Linked DNA regions of Homo sapiens: regions 2, 3 and 4 are each linked to region 1. Evidence: promoter capture Hi-C in 16 types of primary human blood cells and fetal thymus (Javierre and others, 2016). All regions are on one chromosome and are shown on one strand. The core of a region is centred on a gene start or on the middle of the fragment in contact, and the rest is flanking DNA. Distances in the headings are between cores, read along the strand shown. Region 1 holds the start of RGS13 (regulator of G protein signaling 13). Region 2 has its middle 130 kb from the start of RGS21. Region 3 has its middle 110 kb from the start of RGS1. Region 4 has its middle 83 kb from the start of RGS1.

What was found. The method cuts DNA at HindIII sites, captures the fragments that hold promoters and counts their contacts. A CHiCAGO score of 5 or more calls a contact.
Region 2: a contact is called between a fragment that was not itself captured here and the fragment with the promoter of RGS13 in region 1, in 2 of 17 cell types (total CD4 T cells and naive CD4 T cells). The highest score is 6.9, in total CD4 T cells.
Region 3: a contact is called between a fragment that was not itself captured here and the fragment with the promoter of RGS13 in region 1, in 7 of 17 cell types (total CD8 T cells, total CD4 T cells, non-activated CD4 T cells and 4 more). The highest score is 10.9, in total CD8 T cells.
Region 4: a contact is called between a fragment that was not itself captured here and the fragment with the promoter of RGS13 in region 1, in 1 of 17 cell types (total CD4 T cells). The highest score is 5.2, in total CD4 T cells.

What each region holds. Positions count from the first base shown.
Region 1 is chr1:192,633,817-192,637,396 of GRCh38, reverse strand. It overlaps RGS13 (regulator of G protein signaling 13), which reads right to left and starts at 1,250. Exons shown (of 7, transcript NM_002927.5): 1 at 1,080-1,250. It overlaps LOC107985241 (a long non-coding RNA gene), which reads right to left. Exons shown (of 2, transcript XR_001738348.2): 2 at 2,847-3,388. The HindIII fragment of the contact is 2,675 bases long and covers 1-2,417 here.
Region 2 is chr1:192,441,667-192,445,246 of GRCh38, reverse strand. No RefSeq gene overlaps it. Among named protein-coding and RNA genes, the nearest start is that of RGS21, 130 kb to the right of the region's middle. The HindIII fragment of the contact is 7,303 bases long and covers 1-3,580 here.
Region 3 is chr1:192,462,611-192,466,190 of GRCh38, reverse strand. No RefSeq gene overlaps it. Among named protein-coding and RNA genes, the nearest start is that of RGS1, 110 kb to the left of the region's middle. The HindIII fragment of the contact is 4,743 bases long and covers 1-3,580 here.
Region 4 is chr1:192,491,209-192,494,788 of GRCh38, reverse strand. No RefSeq gene overlaps it. Among named protein-coding and RNA genes, the nearest start is that of RGS1, 83 kb to the left of the region's middle. The HindIII fragment of the contact is 2,741 bases long and covers 582-3,322 here.

The sequences.
Region 1 (3,580 bases), core at 1-2,500:
TCATGGCTTATTATAAAAATTTCTTTACTGTTTTAATTTGTAATTTTCCATTACTTTTTATTTAAATAATCTATATTTATCTTAATATTGTGTATTAATTTGCTTTCCTTTTTTGTTTTTCAATACCCTCTTGGTAAAACTAGTGTGTACTTTTACAATCGAAACATAGAGTGTTTAGAACAAGTTTAGGTCTCCACGATGATTTTGCCTCCACTGTTTTCTCCTGATAATTATTTGAAAGAAATACATTTCACCGATAGAATCTAATTCTCAGAGTGATTATAAATGCATTGGTAATGGATTGAGTTGTATTAGTAGTATGCCAGAATTAGATTTGTTTCCTCCATTATTTAAATGAAATCTTAAAGTATTATGAAAATAAATAAATTTTCTTAAAGCAATTCTGTCTGTTTACATATATCTGCATTTAAATATGTTTCTTTATTTTATGATATAGCATGTTACATAAAATTTAGTAAAATTTGGAGCAATTTATATTTTAGTGAGCTTTTGTTGACCACAGCACACAAATTTCTTGTCCTTTAAAAAATTCAAGAAATTTGTGCATAGTTGTGCTTAAGCATAACATAAAAGAATAAAAAAATTCTACAAAATCAAGATTAACAATGTTTCAGATAAACCTTATAATAATCCACACCTGGCTTCAGTACAGTTAACAAAGGATGGAACTAATAATTTGGTAATGCATGATTTTTGAAACAAATAATTCAGCTATGTCTGATTTTATAATATGTTTTTATCTAAACATATAAAATGAAAAACATTTAAAATGAAAATATACACAAAAACATAAAATGAAATAATATACTTTAAAACTGTAGCATTTCCTCTGTTGCCCAACTTAGAAGATTTATTTATATAAGGAGTGACTCTAAGTTTTGTTTTAAATATAGAAAGCCAGGCAAAAGAATATGTGTTTGTTAGTTTGTCTTTTTTTCTTAGAAAAACCTCTGTTAACACTCCCAGAAGTTCTACCATTGAAATCAGCATCTGCTAGTGATTTATAGCAAGCCAATAGTCTTGTATTTATCAACTATTTTATAGAATCTCATACTTACAAATATATCCTGTCGAGCAGTCCACCATGCTAAATTTGATCTCCTCTTTGTTATGATCCGTTTGAAATCAGGTTCTGAAATTTTGTGAGACACCCAGCATTTTATTTTTCCCAGAGTAAAAGGATTTTACTGTCTCTATAATTACCTTCGATGGCACTCTGGCCTCAGTATGAATGTTCTGTTTTTACACACACGTATCTATGCAAAGAGAGGTTTTGTTGAATATGGAAAGTAGTGCTGTAGGACTCCAGTGCATTACTGATAAAGAGGTTTTATCTAACATTATCAGACCATCTGAAGTGATCAGATGATTGGAAGCAGCAGCTTCATGAAATCTTCAAAGTAATACTCAAATCTTTTTCTCCAAAATAATTTTTCTAGTTTTAGAAAATGTATAGTCTAAAGTAAAATTCCCTTTTAAAAAAGACAGAGAACTGAGTACAAACACATAGGACATCACTGCAAACACATGTTAGCAAATGGTTGAGAACTATTAAAATCAATCTGTTTGTAATAGATTACTAGGGACTTTTAACAACTGAAGGATCTAAAAAAGTATCTTTTCTAGTTATACCTCTCTAGTTCCTTCAACTGGTCCTCTACAGCAGTTCTGGACTCCGTTGTTCTACAGTTTGTTAACATGCCTTCAAAATCTGAATTGAACACAGTGCTTAAGATAAGGTCTAATGAATACAGAATATGGTAAGATTGTGAATGCCCTTGTCCTGGATTTACTCCAATTGTGTGTGTGTGTGGGGAGGGGTGGGGGAGTTGGGGGGTTTGGGGGGAGAGAGAGAGAGAGAAACAGAGAGGTAGGAGTAAAGAAATGCTAGAATAAAACAGCAGTAAAGAAGATCAAAATGTGGTTGATGGAGTGTTTCTTAAAATATTTAGGGGCCCAATGAGATAGAAGATTAACCTTACTTGTCTTTTATAATTTTGAGATTCAAACCCAAGAAAATTGAATTTCTCAAACCTGAGAGATAAGTTTGGGACTAGAAAAGGAAAGGAAACTTTGGAAAGTCAGAAGCTGCGTAGATGTAGCAATAATGTAGGAAGTGAAGGGCAGGTTAGCCTCAGCTTGGGAGGATCTGGGTTGTTTGTGGATAGCACTCATTTTCTCTGGGTGCTAGGTGTGCGATTTCCTCCCCACTCAGGACATTTTGGATGCTGGATCTCTTCAGGAAATCTTCAGTGTCATAGTCAAGACTTTTCCTCACCCCAAATAATTCATTTTTTTGGGATTTGGAATGTTTGCTCTTTCTCATGGTGTGGATGCAAGGAGCTGGCAGGAAGATTCTGGAAGTAACACCCTGTGCGAGTGTCAGTTTCAAAGCTTGTTTAATGGAGTCAAACATGAGAATCTCCCTACAGAGTAAAACTTAAGTATCGACAGGGACTGAAAAACAAATAAATCATAGAGTGAAGAGTAACAGCACGAGTAGGTGGAAATTCCTGGAGGAATTCAAGAGCAATGTGTAGATATTTGTGGCAGATTTCTAAACATGGTTTTGTTTCTCTGAAAAAGTGTAGTTCAAGTTCAGTTTATGAAATCATAGCAATATAATGCTTTGTACGGCACATAGGTGGATCAGACTAATTCAGAGCTGTCAGGTTAGGGCAGGTAACAGGATTATGCTTTCGTTGGTGCAGCTTGGGAATGCCCTTTCCATTGAAAGGCTGTCCTTCTGATGAACTGATCTGCTTACTCTAGAGCACTTTTACTATATTTCAATTTCAGCCAATGTAAGTCCAAAGTAACACAAGTTCAAATGTGCACAATTAAAAATCTTTAATATTTTTATGTTGAAAGTTCAAAATGAACTTTACAAGAGCAGAAAAATGAAGTATTAGAAATTATAAATTCAGAATTTGCCATTTATGTCTTCTACAAAAAGTGGAGAAATATAATTACTGGTTAATGTTCGTGATGACAGCTTAAGAAATAAGCCTACTATTTTCAGTGCATCCTATTTATACTATATAGTGTTTGCCATTTGTTCAGAGGGTGGCTCTTTTCAATATATTCTAGAAGCAAGATAAACTCTTGGACACTGGGGTGAATTGTCTGGTGAAATGTATCCAGTAGGCAGTGGTTTGTGCCAGTGTTTGGAAGAAGACTGGCTTCTGCTCCTGCTTTCCATGGACGCTGATCTGTCCCTCTTAGCCTTTCAGGTCTGTCCTCTCTGCCTTCATTTTCTTCCAAGCTTCTTTGCAGCGCATTCTCAGTCTGTCTTCATACACTCATTGTCCGCATCTTGGAGTGGACGACTCAGAGACTTGACCAGTCTCCCGTCCCCTCTGGTTTGCTGCCAATTAGAAACAATCTAACTTTGGTTTCTGACTTGTGTGAACCCAAAATATACCGACAACAAAAATTAGGAAGAGATTACTGAGCATTGAACACTATTGTTAGCATAAAATAAACCTCAGTAGCAATTAAAGTTAGTTACCAATTCTGTGTGCATTTATTCAGATGATTTGCTTTAAAGATGTCTTTA
Region 2 (3,580 bases), core at 354-2,853, 190 kb after region 1:
ACTGTATCTTGTTTGCTTTTGCCTCTGAGAGCCTGGCACATAATGGGAATCTAAGAAATGCTTCATGAATGAATGTCAGGCATTTCATACTGACAGAGGAGAATGAAAAAAAAAAGCCACACAGAACACAGAATGTACTTTAAATAATGGTCCCAAAGTGAGCATTTTCTAGTTAATATTGTTATCAATCACATTTGATCAATAACAGTGAGTATAAATTCATCATTAACTTGCTAATATCACGAATGTGAATATTATCATGAAATGATTACTATTCTTCCTATTTCTTGGGGTGTGGAGTAAAATAATTTTAATAGATTAGAGAGATAAACATTATCTTAACCACTTTGCATATTAACATTAACTTGTACTTGCAAAACTCTCCATCTCCTCACTCACCGCATCTATAAACTGAACCAAATAAAATTAGACTCAACACTGATCTTTCCATACGCTGGTTGGCACTCCCTCATCAGCTAGAAGTTTAAGTTTTAAGTTTTTTAAACCCCCTGTTTACAAACCTTCTGCTTATTTCCAAATAATGCTGCAATGCTAACATCTGAGCCAACAAGACTTACTTTTCAAGAACCAAATGCTCAGCTAAATAAAGACACAGTATCTTGGAGTTATGTGGGTTAATGAACACTTTTGTGAGTAGTTTAGTTTCTTCGAAGGAAAAATGTTTCAGATAAATAAATTTGTATTGTATAAAATTGGAATAATATTTTCAATGGCAACATTGTAACAAACAGTGTTTAAATTTCCATTGTAAAGCTGGAAAATGGAATTGACTGAGATCTCATTTCTGCTACATATCAATATGCTAAAATAACCCATACACACACTCACACCTGCACACACTTTCTATCTCCACTAATTAAGATCTTAAATGAGTTGAGATTAAAGACAGGTAATGATAATGCATTCTGACCAAACACAAAGTCTCCCATGATGTTCACTGGACAAACTGAGAGGCAGCATAGAATCTGGGCACTGCAGCTCTAACTGCCATTTTCATGGACTTTTTCATGTTTTCTGACTTAAAAAATGAGCTATTTAACATTGAAAGTCTAGAAGAGATATGAACATTTTCTGTGTCTTCAAAGGTGATCTTTATTCTTCCCAGGAATATGAGAAAAACTGTTTCTCCTTCACAATCTATGTAGATTTTGTAGAAAGATATTTAAAAAATATAGATAGTAGAATCCTAAATCTATGCATATAAACCATTGCTCTAAACATGCACAATGCTAACTGCCACACATTTATTCTTTGCAGAAACAATCCCATGCATACTCTCCTCTCTGTATCTCTCCTTTATTTCCTCTCCCATCCAGGAACATACATACATATTTTGGTTATTTCTTCCATACTTTATGTACTCTTTTAAAATCCAGTTTTCTGTGCATGAGTCATGTATCACTTTGATGAATCATTTCCACAAACCTTTAACAATACAAATCTGTTTCTTTTATTAACAAAGTGTTTCAGATACCTTACTTCCAGAATAGAGGACAAATGGGTGATTTGTGAAAGTTCCCTCTCTTTCATTACACTACTTTTTGTTCTCTCTGCCTATACCTTTGGCTGGTTTTCTGATTAATACAATGTTAGGCACCCAGGGGCCACTTATTGAAAGTCTGATTAATGAATAAATGCACCATTTGCCCAGTTGTTGAATTAAAGATTTTGAGATAAGAGCAGTTGTCACATATATGTGTTTTGACTTCTTACATTGTTTACAGAAATCTCAAAATATGGGTTATTTTATATATTCTTTTCATGTTTATTCAGTGCCTACCAGAATTTTCTTACCCAAAGGATGTATAATAATGCTGTCTTTACAATTTCCAATTCTGTAATTGTGTTTGAATGGTGGCTCTATCATTTATTAGCTGTATTAATCATTTTATTTTCAGGCTGGGTTCCCTTTGTAAAATGCAGAGAATAATAACTGGCTAATAGGTTTCTCTAGAAGATTAAATGAAATTATATGATAAAAACTGTTAACGAACTTTATCCAGTCATTTATTGCTGCTTAATAAACCACTTTTAAAATTTAGTGGAATAAAATGCAAACTATTGTATTATGCTCATAGATTCTGTGGTTTAGGAACTGGGGATATCTGGTACCTCAGCCCAGAAGGCTCAAATAGCCAGGGATGCATCAAATGCTGGTGGTGTAATCATGTGCAGAGTTCCTTATATACACACGTAGTTGTAATGACTTGAATAGCAAGCTCCTCTGTGGTGTCCACTGGGGATTACACATGTGTTCTCTCCACTTGGTGTGTGCTTCTTGCAGCATGGTGACTGGGCTCCAAGAGGGAGTATCTTCAGAGAGGGTATGTGGAAAGCAAGCATTCCAAACAACGAGGTAGAAGATGTGTGGCTTTTCTGACCTAGCCTCAGATTTCACAGGAAGTCACTTTCCCTATGTTCTTTTAGTTACCAGCTGTTCACTACATCCAGCCTAGATGCCAAGGAAATGGGAACTAGACTTCATTTAAGAATGGGCAAGGTCACATTGCAGGAGGACCTATGGGTGGAAGATATTTTTGTGGTCATCTTTGTAAAATGCAATCTGTGTAAATAGTGCTTGGCATATACTAAGTGATCAAAAACATTTTGCTATTACTGTAAAGGGTCCTATATAATTATAGTGTATACTTACGGATATATATATATTTGAGATGCAGTCTTGCTCTGTTGCCCAGGCTAGAGTGCAGTGGTGCAATCTCTGCTCACTGTAACCTCCACCTCCCAGATTCAAATGATTCTCCTGCCTCTGTCTCCTGAGTAGCTGGGATTACAGGTGTGTGCCACTGGGCCCGGCTAATTTTTATATTTTTAGTAGAGACGGGGTTTCACCATGTTGGTCAGGCTGGTCTTGAACTCCTGACCTTGTGATTCTCCTGCCTCGGCCTCCCAAAGTGCTGGAATTACAGGCATGAGCCACCGCACCCGGCCTACTTATGGATGCTTTTGCATTTGTAGTCTGAGAAATAGGCTCTGAATTTAATAAGAACTCCGAATTCATCACCTGGGACAGTGACTTACATACCTGGCTCTCAGTCATTATTCGTTGAATGAATATGAATGTTTTGGTGACTGAACTAGTTCTATCTCGTGATCACACATTTGAGTTATTGATCTTCAGTGTAACCTGACACCCTTTCCTGGAATGAGCTAGAAGAGTTTGTCCACTGAGATGACTGGAACATGTAGTTTCGTGTTTCTTATAAGGTGAGACAATGGTGCCCAGTTCTAGCCGGGTGCCTTCCCCTTATCTTTGGGTAACTTATGGCAACATTGTGAAGATGTTTCAGCCCTTTGAGGTTAGGAGGGACAGAACGTTTTCTTGTTTGGGCAATTTTTTATGTATATGTGTTGTAACTTTATCTTAGTTTTCTTTGCCATTTCCTCATCTTAACTTGCCTTCCTCTACGACTCAGTCCTTGCTTTTGTTTTATTTGCTACTTAAACTTCCTGCCTTAGTAATCTTATCCAGTAACATGACCTTAAAAACCTGTCTGTGTGTATCTGCCTATCATTCTGCCAATCAATCAATCAATTGATC
Region 3 (3,580 bases), core at 550-3,049, 170 kb after region 1:
AAATTGGAAAGTCCCTAACACAAAGAAATGATAAATGCTTGAGGTGATGGATACCTTAACTACCCTTATGTGATTATTATACATTGCATGCCTGTATCAAAACAGCACATGTATCTCTTAAACATATACATCTATTATGTACGCGTAATAGTTAAAAGTTAAAAATAAAAAAAACTAAGAATTGAATTAATTAAATAGTAGATGTGCAACTTGAGGTCTTGTTTTTAGATCCAAGGTAGAACCTCACAAATTGATCTGCACTTAGTAAAGAACCCAACAAATATTTGTTGAATTAATTAAACTTTTAAAAGGATCTGCATTACATTGGCAAGGACTTCATGACTAAAACACCAAAAGCAATGGCAACAAAAGCCAAAATAGACAAACGGGATCTAATTAAATTAGAGAGCTTCTACATGGCAAAAAAACTACCATCAGAGTGAACAGGCAACCTACAGAATGGGAGAAAATTTTTGCAATCTACCCATCTGACAAAGGGCTAATATCCAGAATCTACGAAGAACTCAAACAAATGTAAAAGAAAAAAACGAACAACCCCATCAAAAAATGGCAAAGAATATGAACAGACACTTCTCAAAAGAAGACATTTATGCAGCCAACAAACACATGAAAAAAAAATGCTCATCATCACTAGTCATCAGAGAAATGCAAATCAGAACCACAATGAGATACCATCTCATGCCAGTTAGAATGACAATCATTAAAATGTGAGGAAACAACAGATGCTGGAGGGGATGTGGAGAAATAGGAATGCTTTGACATTGTTAGTGGGAGTGTAAATTAGTTCAACCATTGTGGAAGACAGCGTGGTGATTCTTCAAGGCTCTAAAACTCGAAACACCATTTGACTCAGCAATCCCACTACGGGGTATATACCTAAAGGATTATGAATCATGCTGCTATAAAGACACATGCACACGTATGTTTATTGTGGCACTATTCACAATAGCAAAGACTTGGAACCAACCCAAATGTCCATCAATGATAGACTGGATTAAGAAAATGTGGTACATATACACCATGTAATACTATGCAGCCATTAAAAAGGATGAGTTCATGTCCTTTGCAGGGACATGGATGAAGCTGGAAACCATCATTCTCAGCAAACTATCACAAGGATAGAAAGCCAAACACCGCATGTTCTCACTCATAGGTGGGAATTGAACAATGAGATCATTTGGACACACAGGGGGGAACATCACACAATGGGGCCTGTTGTGGGGTGGGGGGCTGGGGGAGGGATAGCAATAGGAGAAATACCTAATGTAAATGATGAGTTATTGGGTGCAGCAAGCCAACACGGCACATGTATACCTATGTAACAAACCTGCACGTTGTGTACATATACTCTAAAACTTAAAGTATAATAAAAAAAAGAAAAAGAAAAAAATGCAAAACCACGTCTGTGAACTTACATATCACCATCATGGGAACAACTTTTCATTAAAACTTTAAGGATACTGAACAAAAAAAGGACCTGCCTTAATTAAACTTAGCACAGAAAATTACTTATATTTCTTTGATTTCAGAAAATCCAGGAAGACTCAATCACCCCAAGTAATATTCTCGAGAAGATCAGTAATATTTGAAATGCTACTTCAGAAAATCACTTATTTATTCATCAAATCTAGATGCACTATTTATTAGGTACAAGTCACTCTGCTTGGTGCTGGGAATACAAAAAATAGTGGTTTACAGTCTGGTGCAGGGAGTCAGGTGTGCAAATAGCAATCACTTATTTTGTTGTATTTATTTTTTGACCAATGATCATCTGCCTTTTGTTTAGTGAATTCCTCTCCTCATCCTTCTTCTATTTCTTTCTTTATTTCCTAAGTATTGCTCATTTTGGACAACCGGTTAGTTTTGAAGAAGAGTTGGGAGAGGTATCAGAGAGGAAGGTGGGCTTGCGGTTTAAAAATTCAGACAGATTTCTCCAAGTGTTTTGTTATACTCTTCCATATTTTAGGGTAGCAGGAAGGTCCCCTGGGGGGCTCTGCGAAGTCCACTGTGTCACCCACATACGTGTTTTTCCAAATGTACACGCACAGGAGTGCTGAGATCTTTTCTTCTTTTCTAGCTGGTACAGGACTGCTTGCTATTTATATTTTATTTTCTATGCCGCCACTCTCACAGCAAAGGCAGTTTTCTATATATTTCCTCTTTCAGTTCCACCTTCCCGGCCACTTCTTTGTAATACAAAGGCATCAGGGAGGCTCCCAATGCCTGTCCACCCACTGGAATCTTGCTATTCTAGCAGGAGACCACTGTTTGCCCCTTAAGGTGTGATGCAACTAGAGCAAGCCCTGCCCTGAGCACTGTACCAGCGCTCTGCTCAGATCTCCTACAAGCAGTCAATGCCCTGGTCCAATTTTCATTGTACTTCAGAGCTCATCTTTGTATATTTCCATTCAGGGTTATGAGCTTTTGTTAATTTTACTGAAGGTGTAGTGGTCTTTTCTGTTCTTCCCCTTTCTGTTCTTCCCCTTGTTACTTTTGGATAGTTTCTAAGAAGAGAAAAGAAGAGTCAGAGACATTGGCTCAGCCTTCTTTTCCCAGAATTTTCTCAAAAGACTTAAAATGTAGTCTTAGTGAGAGGGAGGGAAAGACGGAATGCTGAAAATTGTTGGTGATAGGAAATTAAAGTTTAAGATTTAAGAGGTGAAGGAATTTGAGATGGTGACACGTTCTAATTTCATCTCCATTCTTTTTTTTTTTTTTTTTTTTTTTTTTTTTTGAGACGGAGTCTCGCTCTGTCGCCCAGGCTGGAGTGCAGTGGCGCGATCTCAGCTCACTGCAAGCTCCGCCTCCCGGGTTCACGCCACTCTCCTGCCTCAGCCTCTCGAGTAGCTGGGACTACAGGCGCCCGCCACCACGCCCGGCTAATTTCTTTTTGTATTTTTAGTAGAGATGGGGTTTCACCATGTTAGCCAGGATGGTCTCGATCTCCTGACCTGGTGGTCCACCTGCCTCAGCCTCCCAAAGTGCTGAGATTTCAGGCGTGAGCCACCGCGCCCGGCCTTCATCTCCGTTCTATCAGAGGTAGAATGGAGATGAAAAATAAAGGAGATGAAGAAGTGAGGAAGCTGAAGAGCAGGGATTTTTACTCCATCATTCAGGTAAAAATGGAAGGATAATTGCAGTAATTGGGATTGGAGGAAAGATTGCGGATTATATAACAAAGTTTTCAGATAATGTGCATTAACTGAAAGCTAAGTGGTGAAAGAATACAAATACAAGCATTATAATGCTGTGTTTAAGAGAGAAGCTGCAGCCCATGGCAGCTTAAGAGATAAATCATTGTATAACAGATGTAGTGAGAAAGTGCAGGCTTAGGGTGGCAATGTCTGCCTGCATCAGCAAGAGCTGGCTGGAATTTGAGAGGATAACAGATTACTGAAGATGCATCTCTGTGTTAGAAGAGATGGTTCCTGCTTTTGCTTGAGTCACAAGAGCGTCAGCAGAATCTGGGCTCACGCTTTTCTAGGTATTTTTTATGATACCCAGAAATTCTGCTAAAACCTGTGGGGGAATTTCTGATTTCATTAAATTTTCACTGTTG
Region 4 (3,580 bases), core at 703-3,202, 140 kb after region 1:
TTACAGGCATGCACCACCATGCCTGGCTATTTTTTAAAATATTAGTAGAGATGGGGTTTCACCACATTGGCCAGGCTCGTCTCAAATGCCTGATTTCAAGTGATCCACCCACCTCAGCCCCCCAAAGTGCTGGGATTATAGGCATGAGCCACCGAGCCTGGCCTCCATACTATTTTCTATAGAGGTTGAACTAATTTATATTCCCACCAACAGTATATAAGCATTCCCTTATCCCCGCATCTACACCATCTTTTGTTTTTTGACTTTTTAATAGAAGCCATTCTGACTGATGTAAGATGATATTTTAATGTGTTTTTAATTTGCATTTCTCGGGTGATTAGTGATATTGAGCATTTTTTCATGAGTTTGTTGGCCATTTGTATTTTTTCTTTTGCGAAATGTCTGTTCATGTCCCTTGCCCAGTTTTTAATGGGGTGGTTTCCTTTTTTCTTGAGTTATTTCAGTTCCTTGTGAATTCTGGATATTAGTCCTTTGCCAGGGACATAATTTGCAAATATTTTCCCCCGCTCTATAGGTAGTCTATTTATTTTGTTGGTTATTTCTTTTGCTATCCAGAAGCTTTTTAGTTTAGTTAAGTCCCATGTATCTATTTTTGTTTTTCTTGCATTTGTTTTTGGGGTCTTTGTCATAAATTCTTTGCATAGGCTAATGCCCTGAAGAGATTTTCCTAAAATTCTAATATTTCTTAAACTTAATTACCTCATAAACTCTTAACTCAATCTTTTGATTTGGTATTATATGTAGAGTAACATTAAAGATGTAAATAATTATTAGAAACTTATTTTGGAACATTTTAAATGTGTACTAAAGTTGACAATATAATGAATTCCTATCTACCCATCACCCAGCTCAACAATTATCAACATTTTCCCATTCTTATTTGTCTATACCCTATCTTATATATGAGTTTTCTCTAGATTATTATAAACCACATAACAGATATTGCATAATTTCACATATAAATATTACAATATACATCTTTAATAGATAATTATAAAAAAGGCTTAGCTTAGCAGTATTTCATCACGAATAACAACATTTTACAAATAATGTCACATCATCCAATAAGTGGCCCAATGTTCTATTTTCTTCTTTTATCTAAAAACATGTCTTTTTACAGTTTTTTGAATCAAGATCCAAACACAGACCACATATTGTATTTAGTTAATATGTCTCTAAATGGCTTTTTAAAATAATGTCATATATTTGTTGAAGATACTAGTTTATTATTTTTCTACCTCTAGGTATGGTGGTTGTATCTCTATCACCCATATTTCCTGTAAGTTGACAATTGATAGACTTGATTAGATTCAGATTCAACTTTGGAAAAAATACTTTATAGGTGGTGCTATACATAGCATCTTTCATTGCATCAGGGGCATGTAGGGGGCATATTATTGAGTTTCACTTTTAGTGATGTTAAGATTGATCAGTAGGTTAATGTGTTGCTTGTTATATAGTGATGAGAGGCCAGATAATTTCATTACAGTTTGCCAATGGTGATTTACTAATTCTATAATCTTTTTACATTTATTAGCTAGAATTCTTCCATGGAGAAGATTTTCATTAGGTATTTGGTTACTATGGCAGATTGATTTTCCTGAAAGGCAGACATTGAGATGGAGATAAGTGGAGGGCATTTAGTAAGCATTGCTTTTGGGATCAATATTTTTTGGAAGAGAGTTCAAGATGTTCAGATACACCAACCTAGCTCTCCCTACCTCATGTGTCAAGATCATACTTTTTTCCCAGACAGAAACCTGATGTTGGTGTTGCAGACCTGCCTTGGTTGGAAGTTTAACCTTTTTTGGAGTTTTGCTACTTTTATAGGCCTCGTCATCAGCTTTTTCTGTACAGTCTGCCTTCCCACCTTAGGAGAAAAGACATGACTCCTCTTCCTCCAGTCTCTCTCTCTCTCTGACCAAGGTGACCTATGACTTTTACACTTAACTTTTATTTGTAAATTAATCACTCTTAGTTTTCATCTTTCTTCCCAGAGTGTTACTTGAGCTCACTCAAGTCTCCTTATAATTACTACTCCCCCATGTTTCACAATTTGACACATTGCACTAGCTAATGCATTTCTCTTCAGCAGTGCACCAACCTAGTGAAAATATTACCATTTGCATTGGTATCTTGTGCCAGAGGCTATTTGTGCTCCACCTGCCATCAGCGGTAGGCTCCTCATTGCCAGCTCTGGAGCAGGTTAATTCAGCTCTAAAACCTTATTTTAGGTTTTGCTTTCTTAAACCACACATGACAATAACTGCTTGCAACAGGTTAGATTTCTTGGGAAGCAAACTGTCATGGAGGTTAGCATCCAGGATACTGACTAGGGAGTGCCCTTGGGAACAGGAGTGGGCAGAGGGAGGAATTGACCTGTGATACAATTTCAGCAATGGCTTCAGCTGATCCCACAGAGAGTTCAGTGCTCTGGTAGATTTCTGAGTCATCTTCAGTTGAGAAAACAGGATTTTATACTGAACAATTACCTTGGGAAAACAGCATGAAATACACTACACACAGGAAAGACAGAACAAACAATCCATAATGCTTTCTCTTTTTAAAATCAGTATTTGAAATTTTCTAGTAATTATCAAAGGTGACCAATGAGTGTGTATGTGCGTGTGTGTTTTGTTTTTGTATAATTAGTAACTTATGGATATATATGACCTTTCCAGTCATTTTTATTGTTGCTCCAACTGTTCCACAGTTTCGCCAGTGGGAGCTGCTCTAATTGGGTTCTCTGTCTCTTTGACATGTTCCCTGTAATCCTTGATTGCTTTCTTGCTTTTCAGCACAACAAGATGTTCCAGACTTATTCAACATATTGTCCAGCCAGTCCTGGAAACAATCAGTTCCCTGAGGACAGAATTAAAGTTTAGAGACCTGAATCTGGGCCCCAGGGGTGGTCATTACTACTGGTTTGCCACTGCTTCTGTAGCTTTTCAGTGAAGAGGTAGTTATGTAATATGTATCTAAAAAAATAAATTCAAGTTATGTATTTTAAAAATAAATTCAAGGTCTATATATTTTAGAAAAAGGAAAAATCATGTGTTCATGTTAATATTTATATTTAAATATATAATTACATGTCTTAATTTATGTTGTTCTACCTTGATAATTCTATACCTCTATTATTTTGCTTTTATACCTTTTCTCCCCAAATTTTCTTAAATTGAAACTCTTGGTTCCTAATTACATGTACATACTTATTTATCTTATACCATATACATATAGTAATTTCAAAATAACAATACAAACATTATTATCATTAACAATAATGCTGCCGAATAAAGCTTGTGATTTCTTTGTGGAGATTTTCATACTTGGGATATATCTCACTAGTGATACTAAAAAAAACCTGCGTTTTAAAGTCACTCGAAATAATTTTTCCCTGTGTGGTTTTGTCAACAATTTGATATGCAGTTAGATCCCTTTACTTCAAAAAATTTTGAGTAACTGCTTAGCTTTTATTTTTGAAATAATCACAGTTTTTGATTACATAGATAGAGCATAAAGCATTTACAGGGTTCCAAAGTGTGTGTGTATGTGTACA